Linked DNA regions of Homo sapiens: region 1 is linked to region 2. Evidence: promoter capture Hi-C in human tissues and cell types (Jung and others, 2019). All regions are on one chromosome and are shown on one strand. The core of a region is centred on a gene start or on the middle of the fragment in contact, and the rest is flanking DNA. Distances in the headings are between cores, read along the strand shown.

Region 1 (6,701 bases), core at 1,682-4,181, 140 kb before region 2:
ACGTCATCCCTTACATGCCATCGTAGACTTCATACTGGAGAGAAACCTTTCAAGTGTAATGAGTGTGGCAAGACCTTTAGTCGGAAGTCATCCCTTACATGCCATCATAGACTTCATACGGGAGAGAAACCTTATAAGTGTAATGAATGTGGCAAGACCTTCAGTCAGGAGTTAACCCTTAAATGCCATCGTAGACTTCATACCGGAGAGAAGCCTTACAAGTGTAATGAATGTGGCAAGGTTTTTAATAAAAAGGCAAACCTTGCACGTCATCATAGACTTCATAGTGGAGAGAAACCCTACAAGTGTACTGAGTGTGTCAAGACGTTCAGTCGAAATTCAGCCCTTGTAATTCATAAGGCTATTCATATTGGAGAGAAACGTTACAAGTGTAATGAGTGTGGCAAGACGTTCAGTCGAATTTCAGCCCTCGTAATTCATACGGCAATTCATACTGGAGAGAAACCTTACAAGTGTAATGAATGTGGCAAGGGTTTTAATCGGAAAACACACCTTGCATGTCATCATAGACTTCATACTGGAGAGAAACCTTACAAGTGTAATGAATGTGGCAAGGTTTTTAATCGAAAAACACACCTTGCACATCATCATAGACTTCATACTGGAGATAAACCTTACAAGTGTAATGAATGTGGCAAGGTTTTTAATCAAAAAGCACACCTTGCACGTCACCATAGACTTCATACTGGAGAGAAACCTTACAAGTGTAATGAATGTGGCAAGGTTTTTAATCAAAAAGCAAACCTTGCACGTCATCATAGACTTCATACTGGAGAGAAACCTTACAAGTTTAATGAGTGTGGCAAAGCTTTTAATTGAAAAGCAAAGCTTGCACATCATCATACAATTCATACTGGAAAGAAACAAGTGCAATGAGTGTGGCAAGACCTTCTGTCACAATTCAGTCCTTGTAATTCATAAGAATTCATACTGGAGAGAAACAAGTGTAATGAACGTTGCAAAATTTTTAATCAACAAGCACACCTTCCACGTCATCATAGACTTCATAGTGGAGAGAAACCTTAGAAATGTGAAGCATGTGACAAAGTTTACAGTGGCAAATCGAGCCTCAAAAGACAGGAGAATTCATACTGGAGAGAAAGCTTACAAAGGTGAAGAATATCACAGAGTTTTCAGTCACAAGTCAAACCTTGAAAGACATAAAATAAATCATACTGCAGAGAAACCATAAAATTGTAAGAGTTCGTGACAAGGCTTTCGGGCATGACTCACACCTGGCACAACATCCTAGAATTTATACTGGAGAGAAACCTTACAAGTGTAATGAGTCTGGCAAAGCCTTAATGAGCAGTCAACACTTACTCACCATCAGGCAATCCATGGTGAAGGAAACTTGACTAATGTAATGATTGTCACCAAGTCTTCAGTAACGCTACAACCATTGCAAATCATTGGAGAACCCATAAGGAAGAGAGATCATACAAGTGTAATAATCGGCAAATTTTTCAGACATCGTCCATACCTTGCAGTTCATTGGCGAACTCATACTGGAGACAAACCTTATAAATGTCATGATTGAGGCAAGGTCTTCAGTCAAGCTTCATCCTATGCAAAACATAGGAGAATTCATACAGGAGAGAAACCTCACGTGTGATGATTGTGGCAAAGCCTTTACTTCACGTTCACACCTCCTTAGACATCAGAGAATGCACACTGGACGGAAATCTTACAAATGTCATCAGTGTGGCAAGGTTTTCAGTCTGACTTCACTCCTTGCAGAATATCAGAAAATTCATTTTGAGATAATTGTTCCAAATGCAATGAGTAGAGCAAACCATCAAGCAGTAATTGACATTAAAGTGTTTATGTTAAGAGGATTGGGCCAGGTACAGTGTCTCACACCTGTAATCCCAGCACTTTGGGAGGCCAAGGCGGGTAGATCACTTGAGGTCAGGAGTTTCAGATCAGTCTGGCCAACAAACATGAGCCACTTTTCCCAGTTTGCTTTTTGTTCTTTAACAAAAACTGATAGGGATTTTTATGGGTACCGTGTTGAATCTAAATCACATTGGGTTATATAATCATTTAACAATATTAATTTTTCCAATCCATCAATATGGGTTATATGTCTGTATATGTTTTTAATCATATTGATGTATATTTGTAGATTTCAAGGTACAAACTTCTCACCTTTTTACTTTTATTTCTATTTCTTTAAGTTCTCTAGCAAATGGAAGTGTTTTTAAATTTTCTTTTAAAATTGTTTATTGTTACAAACTTCTCATCTTTTTGCTTTTATTCCTAAGTATTTCTTACTTTAAGTTCTCTAGCAAATGGAAGTGTTTTTAAATTTTCTTTTAAAATTGTTTATTGTTAATGTATGGAAATTCAGCTAATTTTTGGTGCTGATATTGTACTGTGCAGATACACTGAATCTGTTTATTACTTCCAGTAGTATTTTGGTTGAGTCTTTGTGATTTTCTACACAGAAGATCATGTCATCTACAAACACATATAATTTTACTTCTTTCTTTCTGATTTGGATGGGTTTGATTTCTTTTGCTATTTCATTGCTCTGGCTAGGACAGCCAGTATTTATTGAATAGAAGGGGTGAGAGCATTCTTCCATCATGTGAGATCCTACAGGAAAATCATTCCATGTTCCCTGCTTCGTTATCTACTCGTTGGTCATTTCATGGATGGCCTTTCTATTGTTGAGGTAAATTTCCTTTTCTGTCTATTTTGTTCAGAATTTCTATGATGAGTGGATTTTGAATTTTGTGAAATACTTTTTCTCCATCTATTGAGATGATGTGGTTTTCATCTTTCATTCTGTTCAAGTGGCATATCACATTGATTTGCTTGACTATGTTGAACCATCCTTGCATCCCAGAAATAAGTGGCACTTGAGTATCTACAGTCCTTTTTACATCCTCTTGAATACAGCTTTTTAGTACAAGGGGTCTTCAAGAAGTTCATGGAAAAATACATATTTTGCATATTATGAGAAAATTGTGTATGAATTTCCCAGTTTTTGCACCAAAATAAACTGGTACGAATCTGTTATGTCTGAACAGGTCCTAGTTTGAGGCACCCAGAAGGATAAGACATGAGTTTTAAAAGAGACTTTCTCTGCCGGGCGCAGTGGCTCATGCCTGTAATCCCAACACTTTGGGAGGCCAAGGTGGGTGGATCACCTGAGATCCAGAGTTCGAGACCAGCCTCACCAACATGGAGAAACAGCATCTCTACTAAAAATACAAAATTAGCCAGGCATGGTGGCAAATGCCTGTAATCCCAGATACTCTGGAGGCTGAGGCAGGAGAATGGCTTGAACCCGGGAGGCAGAGATTGCTGTGAGCCGAGATTGCACCATTGCACTCCAGCCTGGTCAACAAGAGCGAAACTCTGTCTCAAAAAAAAAAAAAAGAAAAGAAAAGAAAAGAGACTCTATCAAAGCAATATAAATCCTGCTAAAATTGAAACAAAAAGGAGCATCAAATTTACAGTGAGACCAGATGCAGTGGCTCAGGCCTGTAATCCCAGCACTTTCAGAGGCCAAGACAGGTGGGTCATGTAAGCCCAGGTATTCAAGACAAGCCTGGGCAACATGGTGAAACCCCCTTGTCTACAAAAAATACAAAAATTAGCTGGGCACGGTAGCACATGCATGCAGGGCCAGCTGCTGTGGAGTCTGTGGTAGGAGGATAGCTCGAGCCTGGGAGGTTGAGGCTGCAGTGAGCTATGATCATGCCACTGCATTCCAGCATGGGTGATGGAGCGAGATACTGGCTCAAAAAAAAAAATACTTCTTGTAAAGTTTGGGTAGAGGAATAATGAAATCATTGATGCTTTATGAAAAGATTATGGAGATGATGCCCAGAAGAAATAAACAGTTTGTAAATGGATAACTTAGTTTGAGTTGGGACAAGACAATGTTGAAGGTGATGCATGGAGTGGCAGGCACACCATCCACATCAGTTTTTTTGTTTGTTTTTGTTGTTGTTGTTTTTTTGAGATGGTGTCTCGCTCTGTCTCCCAGGCTGGAATGCAGTGGTGCAATCTCGGCTCACTGCAACCTCTGCCTCCCGGGTTCAAGTGATTCTCCTGTCTCTGCCTCCTTAGTAGCTGGGACTACAGGCGCGTGCCACCACATCAGCTAATTTTTGTATTTTTAGTAAGACGGGGTTTCACCATGTTGGCAAGGCTGGTCTTGAACTCCTGACCTCACGATCTGCCCACCTCAGCCTCCCAAAGTGTGGAGATTACAGGCATGAGCCACCATGCCCCTTGCACATCAGTTTTACAAAAAAATTTATCTTGTTTGTGCCACAATGAAGAGGACTGACAGGTAACAGCAGAAACAATAGTCAGGAGTTTGAGAACAGGCTGATTAACATGGTGAAACCCCGTCTCTACTAAAAATACAAAAATTAGCTGGGTGTGGTGGCGGGTGCTTGTAATCCCAGTTACTCAGGAGGCTGAGGCTGCATTATCGCTTTAACCTGGGGGGCGGAGGTTGCAGTGAGCCAAGATGGGGGCAATAAGAGCAAAACTTTGTCTCAAAAAAAAATAAATAAATAAAAAATAAAATATGTCAAGCCCCTTCTCTTCCTGTCTCCTCTCGTGGTGTGTACTTGACTCCCCTTCTCGCCAGATCTCACAGGACTTTCAGATTTAAGCAATACCTGGCCAAGAAACAAAAGCAAAATCATTCCATTCCCCCAGTGGATTCAGATCAAAACTGGTAATAAAATCAGGTACGACTCCAAAAGGAGACATTGGAGAAGAACGAAGCGGGGTCTATAAGGAATTGCACGTGAGATGGCACACATATTTATGCTGTGTGAGCATTACAATCGCGTTACCATATCAAGCTGAAAATGTCACCACTATCTGGAGTGTTGGAAATGTTTTATTGGGAATATGTTTTTTCTCTGAATCTGCTATGAACACGTCAGTTGGGTGGGTTCAGTAATAAATATGTGAGACTTTTCATTTCAAAATAAAAAAGGCAAATGATGTAATTGCATAGAGTACCTTAATTTCTGTTTTGCTTTTTTTTTTTTTTTTTTTTTTGAGATCAAGACTCCACTGGGTCAGCTGATCACACCTGTGGTCCTCGCACTTTGGGAGGCTGAGATGGGAGGATTGCTTGAGACCAGGAGTCTCCTGGGAATGTTCTCATCTCCCCTAACCCAATTCATGAGAGACCCTTGGACTTTACTGTTATGGAAAAATCTATATTAAGCAATATCAGTGTGTCAAAGCATTATGTCTGTCACAAGCTCGTGAAAGGAAAATAAAAATTACTAAGCCAAAGAGAAAAGTCAACCTGAGAACTGCATCAGACAAACCTGCCTCCCATTTTATTCCTAAATGAGATAGCCACAAAGACTAAAATAAAGCTACGTAGAGGCCATGCACGGTGGCTCATGCCTGTAATCCCAGCACTTTTGGAGGCCGAGGCGGGTGGATCACTTGAGGTTGGGACTTTGAGACTAGCCTGACGAACATGGAGATACCCTGTCTCTACTAAAAATACAAAAATTAGCGGGGTGCGGTGGTGCGCGCCTGTAATCCCAGCTACTTGAGAGGCTGAGGCAGGAGAATTGCTTGAACCCAGGAGGCAGAGGTTGCAGTGAGCCGAGATTGCGCCATTGCACTCCAGCCTGGGTGACAGAGTGAGACTCCCTCTCAAAAAAAAAAAACTTCCAGCAAACATCATATGTTATAATAATCCTTTGCCACAGAAGAGACTCAGGTATGATAAGTTCCTACGTGGAGAACAAAATATGAGTTTCTACTCGGTCCTCAGGTGCCTTCCCAGAGATGCCCCCACATTTTCCTACAGCAGTGGGGATGTAGGATGGACTGACCCTCCCCACCACACACACACACACACACACACACACACACACACACACACACACACCCTGGGGAAAAGCCCATATAAAGCAGTTCCCATTTCCCTCCACAAACTGCGGGCTCCCAGTGAAAACTACCTTAGACATTCTTGCAAATCCCATTCTTGTCTGGCCTTCTACGGGATGACAGGGGCCTAGAGAAGGCAGTACTGGGTGGAGTTACCTGGGTGCGCATTTGTCGGGATGTGGCATTTTATGGCTATTCTAAGGTCTGTTATCAGTTGTCTGTCTTGGGGAGAATGTGCAGTCGCCATGGTCCAATAATCCTCTATCCAAGGACCACACAGGTCACCGCAGGCGCTCAATCAGCGTGATCCACATGGTATGATGTGTGCTCTGGCAGGGCACAGACGGACACACTCAGCTCTGTCAATGTGTAAACAGGGAGTGTTGCAATGACATGGTTTATTCACAGTCACCATGGAATCTGATGTGGCATTTTAAAAAATGCGTAGATCTGTTGCAACTGGTATGAAAACATCACTTGTGGGGAAAAGAAAGAGAGATCAGACTGTTACTGTGTCTATGTAGAAAGAAGTAGACATAAGAGACTCCATTTTGTTCTGTACTAAGAGAAATTCTTCTGCCTTGAGATGCTGTGAATCTGTAACCCTAGCCCCAACCCTGTGCTGGCAGAGACGTGTGCTGTGTTGACTCAAGATTTAATGGATTTAGGGCTGTGCAGGATGTGCTTTGTTAAAAAGTGCTTGAAGGCAGTATGCTTGGTAAAAGTCATCACCATTCTCTAAACTCAAGTATCCAGGGACACAAACACTGCAGAAGGCCGCAGGG
Region 2 (7,002 bases), core at 1,325-3,824:
TTATATAATGTAATTTTATTTTAGTTTTTGAAAAGCTGGTCTCCTGGGCTCAAGCGATCCTCCCTTCTTGGCCTCCCAAACTGCTGGGATTACAGGTGTGAGCCACTGTGTCCGGCCTATGATTTTTTTTTTTTAATGAAATACCTGGAAAAGATAAATCCAGAGAAACAGACGGCAGATTACAGGCTCTTTTTAAATTGGTTTCTGACACTATCACAAGATAAAAATGTGGTTTAAAATTGTTGCTTGGTATGTCTTATTCACCTCTAAAGATATACTGTTCATCAGGCCGGGTGCAGTGGCTCACACCTGTAATCCCAGCACTTTGGGAGGCTGAGGCGGGAGGATGGCTTGAACCCAGGAGTTCTAGGCTGTAATGTGCTCTGCCAATTGGGCATCCACACTAAGTTCGGCATCAATATGGTGACCTCCCACCAGGTTGCCTAAGAAGTGGGGAAATGGTCTAGGTTGAAAATGGAGCAGGTCAAAATTTTCATGCTGGCTGGGCACAGTGGCTCACACATGTAATCCCAGCACTTTGGGAGGCCAAGGCAGATGGATCACCTGAGGTCAGGAGTTTGAGACCAGTCTGGCCAACATGGTGAAACCCTGTCTCTACTAAAAATACAAAAAAAAAAATTAGCTGGGCATGGTGGCATGTGCCTATAATCCCAGCTATTTGGGAGGCTGAGGCAGGAGAGTTGCTTGAACCCAGGAGGCAGAGGTTGCAGTGAGCCGGGATCACGCCACTGCACTCTAACCTGGGCGACAGAGTGAGACTCCATCTCAAAAAAAAAAAAAAAAACTTTCATGCTGATCAGTAGTGGAATCAGCTTGTGAATTGCCCTCCAGCCTGAGCAACACAGACTGCCTCTTACTAATCCCAGCACTTTGGGAGGCTGAGGTGGGAGGATGGCTTGTGCCTAAGACTTTGAGACTAGCCTAGCCAAAATCCCTTCTCTACAAAAAATGCAAAAATTAGCTGGGTATGGTAGTGTGCACCTGTAGTCCCAGTTACTCAGGAGGCTTAGGTGAGAGGCTCACCTAGGCCCAGGAGGTTAAGGCTGCATTGAGCTATGATTTTGCCACTGCACTCCAGGCTGGGCCTAGGCCTTTGTAGTCACAGCTACTTGGGGGCAAATGTAGGAGGATCACTTGAGCCCAGTAGGTCGAGGCTGCAGTCAGCTGTGTTTTTTGAGACATAGCAAGACCCTGTCTCAAAAAGAAAAAAAAAAGTAGCTACAAGCTCATTTATGCAAAGGCTAACCACTGTCACAAGTAGAGATGTGCAGAACTGAGATTCAAATGGATGGAATGGCAAGAAAAACTGCCACTTCTGTGAACCTGAAGTCAAACTGCCCTTGTCGTCAAGATAAAAGGTATACATGGTGTGAGCCTGGGCATCTGAAAGGTGTTGCAGCTTTTTCTTTTATTTTTTTGAGATGGAGTCTCACTCCTGTCACCCAGGCTGGAGTGCAGTGGTGCGATCTCAGCTCACTGCAACCTCTGCCTCCTGGGTTCAAGCAATTCTCCTGCCTCAGCCTCCTGAGTAGCTGGGATTACAGGTGCCCACCACCACACCCAGCTAATTTTCGTATTTTTAGTAGAGATGGGGTTTCGCCATGTTGGCCAGGCTGGTCTCGAACTCCTGACCTCAGGTGATCCGCCTGCCTCAGCCTCCCAAAGTGCTGGGATTACAGGTGTGAGCCACCTGTAATTAGCCAGGCTTGGTGGTGGGTGCCTGTAATCCCAGCTACTGGGAAGGCTGAGGCAGGAGAATTGCTTGAACCTGAGAGGCGGAGGTTGCTGTGAGCCGAGATCGTGCCACTGCACTCCAGCCTGGGTGACAGAGTGAGACTCCATCTCTAAATAAATAAATAAATAAATAAAATGAGATGATTTCTGAGTGAGTTAACTAAATCAGGATATGCAGAACAATGCCAAGCATATATTAGCCACTAAAGAATATATAAGTTGCCTGAAAGCCCCTTTAGGGTTTAAACCTGGACTTCATTATTCACAATCACATTCCCGGTCCCCATTACGGAGCCTGGTCACCTGGGTGCTTGTTAGATATGGAAATCATCAGATCCCACCCCAGACCGAGTCAGAAACGTTGAGGGCAGGAGTTCAAGACCAGCCTGGCCAACATGGCGGAAACTCCGTCTCTACTAAAAATACAAAAATTAGTCAGGAGTGGTGGCACAGGCCTGTGATCTCAGCTACTCGGGAGGCTGAGACATGAGAATCCCTTGAACCTGGGAGGCAGAGGCTGCAGTGAGCCAAGATGGTGTCATTGCGCTCCAGCCTGGGTGACAGAGTGGGACTCTGTCTCAAAGAAAAAGAAAAAAAGAAAAGAAATTGCAGCTTCTGCTCAGGAAGTCTGGAGTGGGCCAGGATTCTGCATTTTAACAACTCCCAGGAGTGTTAGTGGGGCTGGTTTGTGGACTCGCCTTTGAGTCGTTGGTCTCCGCTCAATCAATATTAGATAAAATGACAGTATTGGGAGAAATCCAGGGGGCTCTGGAGGACCGAGGGATCATATTGGAGGCAGATAGGGCAGAGAAAGGTGGAGGAGGTGGGAGTCGGGTGTGGCTGTGGAGGAAGCTACTTAAATCCGGATTTGATCTTTGCTAGTTCTTATCCCTGGACCTGAACCCAGGCGCACATCTGGATTAGAAGATGCCAGGCTCAGAGGATCTTCGTAAAGGTAAGCCAGAAAAAATGAGAACCGAAGCAAAGACACGTGAAGAAGTGGAAAGCAGCTGGCGGCGGGAAAAGGCAGAGGGACCAGGCGGCCGAAGCTGGTGCTTCGTCCACGTGGGTGGCAGGGACTTCCCACAGAGGCTGTCATCGTTTTTGTTGTTGTTGTTTTGTTTTGTTTTGTTTGTCTTTTGAGACAGTCTCACTCTGTCGCTCAGGCTGGAGTGCAGTGGCACGATTTCGGCTCACTGCAACCTCCACCTCCCAGGTTCAAGCAATTCTCCTGCCTCAGCCTCCCGAGTAGCTGGGATGACAGGCACACGCCACCACACCTGGCTAATTTTTTTTTTTTTTGTATTTTTAGTAGAGCCGGGGGTTTCACCATATTGACCAGGCTGGTCTCGAACTCCTGACCTTGTGATCCGTCTGGCTCAGCCTCCCAAAGTGCTGGGGTGACAGGCGTGAGCCACTGCACCCGGCCCAAGTTTTGTATCTTTATAGAGATGGGGTTTCACCATGTTAGCTAGGTTGGTCTCAAGCCCCTGACCTCATGTGATTGGCTGGCCTCGGCCTCCCAAAGTGCTGGGATTACAGGCATGAGCCTCGGTGCCCGGCCGCGGCTGTCATCTGACAGCACAGGCAAATGCAGGGAAGCCTGTTTCTGCCTTCAAATCCGAAATCTTCTCCCTCGTAGTTGTGTCCTAATTCTTCCCACCCCGATGCTTGTTCTTGAGCACAGGGGAATCTGATTCCTATGAGGATGATTAGGTCCTAGATAGAATATAGGCTTAGCCAAGCTGGAAATCTCATGTTCATGAGCACTTACTAGACTCTGGAGCTGCTGCCAAACCATTTTCAGGCATGATGCGATTCAGATCTTTTAGAGCGAGGCATGCGGTGGCTCATGCCTGTAATCCCAGCACTTTGGGAGGCCGAGGTGGGCAGATCGCTTCAGCCCAGGAGTTCAAGACCAGCCTGGGCAACAAAACAAGACGTTGTCTCTACAAAAAATACAAAAATTAGCCGGGCATGTCAGTGTTGTGTAGTTCCAGCTACTCGGGAGGCTGAGGTGAGAGGATCGCTTGAGCCTGGGGAGGTTGAGGCTGAAGTGAGCTGTGATCATGCCACTGGGCAACACAGCAGTACACTGTCTCAAGAAAAAGAAAGTAAAAGGTGACATCCGTGACAGCAGTGATGTTATTTTTCTGCTTATTTCCTTGCTATATTCCTAAAAGAATATACTTAATGAACATTGAATAAATGATAAGAATAAAACCATGTCCATCCATTTCACCTTGGATTGAGTTGCCTATTTCTACACAAAGAAAATAGAACCCAAGAGGTAAGGCACAAGCGATCCCTTATTTACGTATTTATTTATTTATTTATTTATTATTTTCTTGAGACAGGGTCTCCCTCTGTCTCAGGCTGGAGTGCAGTGGCATAATCTCGGCTCACCACAGCCTCTGCCTCTGAGGTTCAAGCGATTCTCCTGCCTCAGCCTCCCGAGTAGCTGGGACTACAGGCGTGCACCATCACGCCCAGCTAATTTTTGTACTTTTAGTAGAGACAGGGTTTCACCATGTTAGCCAGAATGGTCTTGATCTCTTGACCTCATGATCCGCCCGCCTTGGCCTCCCAAAGTGCTGGGATTACAGGCATGAGCCACTGTGCCCGGCCAAATTTTTGTGTTTTTAATAGAGATGGGGTTTCACCATGCTGGCCAGGCTGGTCTCAAACTCATGACCTGATATGATCTGCCCGCCCTGGCCTCCCAAAGTGCTGGGATTACAGGCGTGAGCAAGGGATCCCATATTTAAATGATAACAGAAAAAAAGGATGGAGGAACCAAGGGGGAAAGGAACAACCTTTTCCTATGAAAATGACAAATGAGGCTTGGAAAAACAAGGACAAAAGGCAGATCAAGTTGTCCTCCCGCTTCAGCCTCCCACAGTACTGGGACTGCAGCCTGAGGCACGACCCCGGCCAGCAGTGTCTCCATATCTAAGAACCTCAGTCACGGCCGGGCACAGTGGCTCACGCATGTAATCCCAACACTTTGGGAGGCCGAGGCGGGTGGATCACCTGAGGTCAGGAGTTCGAGACCAGCCTAGCCAACATGGTGAAACCCTGTCTCTGCTAGAAATACAAAAATTATCCGGGCATGGTGGCGTGCGCCTGTAATCCCAGCTACTCGGGAGGCTGAGGCAGGAGAATCGCTTGAACTCAGGAGGTGGAGGTTGCAGTGAGCTGAGATTGTGCCACTGCACTCCAGCCTCGGTGACAGAACCTCAGTCACTTGATCATCACGTTGTACCTCAGTGGAAAGGAAAGGAAAGCTCAGGCTTTTGAGAATGGAGTTGTTAGCATTTCCCATTTGTGTCTTTTTCCTCCTCTTTCAAGGCAAGGACCAGATGCATTCACACAGGAAACGAACCATGTTCACTAAGAAGCAACTGGAAGATCTGAACATCTTGTTCAATGAGAACCCATACCCAAACCCCAGCCTTCAGAAAGAAATGGCCTCGAAAATAGACATACACCCAACAGTACTGCAGGTTGGAAAATGATCCCTCTTCTCACTAAACTGCCTTCCTGATCTAATCTAAATTCAGAGTCCCTCTAGGATAATTCCTGAGGTCTCATTCCAATCGCCAATATTCCCCAAACCCACACTCTCCTACTCACGTCCCCGTAAACCTTTCTTCAACCCCCTAGAGCAAGAATGGGAAAATTTTTCCAGTAAAGGACCAGGTAGTAAATAATTGAAGCTTTGTGGGCCATACCGTCTCTCTAGCAACTATTTTAACTATGCCACCACAGTGCGAAGGCAGCCACAGACAACGTAAACAAGAGGCCCATCTGTGTTCCCAGAAACTCTTTTACTCAGGTTGGAGCACGGTGGTGCAATCACAGCTCACTGCAGCCTCGACCTCCCGGGCTCAAGCAATCCTACCACCTCAGCACCCCAAGTAGCTGGGACTACAGGTCTACAGGTGCACACTACGCCTCCCAAAGTGTTGGGATTACAAGCATGAGCCCGGCTGTATTTTATTTTTTGTAGAGATGGGGTTTCGCTATATTGCCCAGGAGGCTGATCTTGAACTCCTGGTCTCAAGTGATTCACCTGCCTTGGCCTCCCAAAGTGTCAGGATTATAGGCATAAGCCACTGCGCCTGGCCTGAAGTTTATACAATTTTCACATTACAAAATAGTGTTGTTTTGTTTTGTTTTAAGACAGGGTGTTGCTCTTGCCCACATTGGAGTGCAGTGGCACGATCATAGCTCACTGCAGCTTTGAATTCCTGGGCTGAAGCCATCCTCCCACTCAGATTCCCAAGTAGGTGGGACTACAGGTGTGTGGTACTACAGCCTCCCGAGCAGCTGATACTACTGGTGTGTACCACCAGGCCCAGCCAATTTGTGTGTTTTTTGTAGAGATGGGGTTTCGTCATGTTGCCCAGGCTGGACTCAAACTCCTGAAATCAAGTGATCCACCCACCTCAGCCTCCCAGAGTCCTGGGATTATAGGCATGAGCCACTGTGCCTGGCCAGTAGTATTCTTTTATTTTCTCTCTTTTTTCTTTCAGTCCCAACACACATACAACACAAAATAGTACTCTTATTGTGTTTGTTTTTTCTCAACCATTTTAAAACGTAAAGCCTATTCTTAGTGCATGGGTGATACAAAGACAGGGGGTGGTCAGATTTGGCCACCAGCCTTAGCTGGCTGGCCTGAGCCCCAGAGCAGCCCCTGCGACTGATCCCCTTGCTCTCCTATCCCCTGCTCTGGGTTTTCTGACCCCTGTCTCAATTTCTGTCCCCAAAATCTCTCATTTCTGCTCCTTCCTGGGAGTAGATTGAGTAGGGTTCCACAAAGAGGATGTAAGTGGCCAAGCTGTGGCACTAGCTGTTCTCACCTAGAAGTACTCATATTATCAACTAAAAGGAAAACTTGGGTTGGGTATGGTGGCTCATGCCTGTAATCCCAGCAGTTTGGGAGGCCGAGGTGGGCGGATCATGAGGTCAGGAGTTCGAGACCAGCCTGGCCAATATGGTGAAACCCTGTCTGTACTAAAAATACAAAAATTAGCCAGGCATAGTGGTGTGAGCCTGTAGTCCCCGCTACTCAGGAGGCTGAGGCAGAAGCATCGCTTGAACCTGGGAGGCGGAGGTTGCAGTGAGCCGAGATGGTGCCACTGAACTCCAGCCTGGGCGACAAGGTGAGACTCCATCTCAAAAATAAAATAAAATAAAATAAAAATAAATAAATAAATAAATATTAGGAGAGTTTAAGGG

What was found. Contacts are between HindIII fragments. The study calls those that stand out against the background at their distance.
Region 1: a fragment that was not itself captured here is called in contact with the fragment with the promoter of DPRX in region 2 in 2 of the 25 tissues and cell types used here (adrenal gland and mesenchymal stem cells).

Annotation. Positions count from the first base shown.
Region 1 is chr19:53,491,247-53,497,947 of GRCh38, forward strand. It overlaps ZNF813 (zinc finger protein 813), which reads left to right. Exons shown (of 4, transcript NM_001004301.4): 4 at 1-5,009. The coding sequence ends at 840. It also overlaps the pseudogene RPL39P37. Among named protein-coding and RNA genes, the nearest start is that of ZNF813, 27 kb to the left of the region's middle. RefSeq lists an enhancer at 837-2,036. The HindIII fragment of the contact is 8,734 bases long and covers 1-6,701 here.
Region 2 is chr19:53,629,425-53,636,426 of GRCh38, forward strand. DPRX (divergent-paired related homeobox) reads left to right here and starts at 2,575. Exons shown (of 3, transcript NM_001012728.2): 1 at 2,575-2,710; 2 at 5,107-5,261. The coding sequence starts at 2,683. It also overlaps the pseudogene RN7SL317P. The HindIII fragment of the contact is 20,441 bases long and covers 1-6,493 here.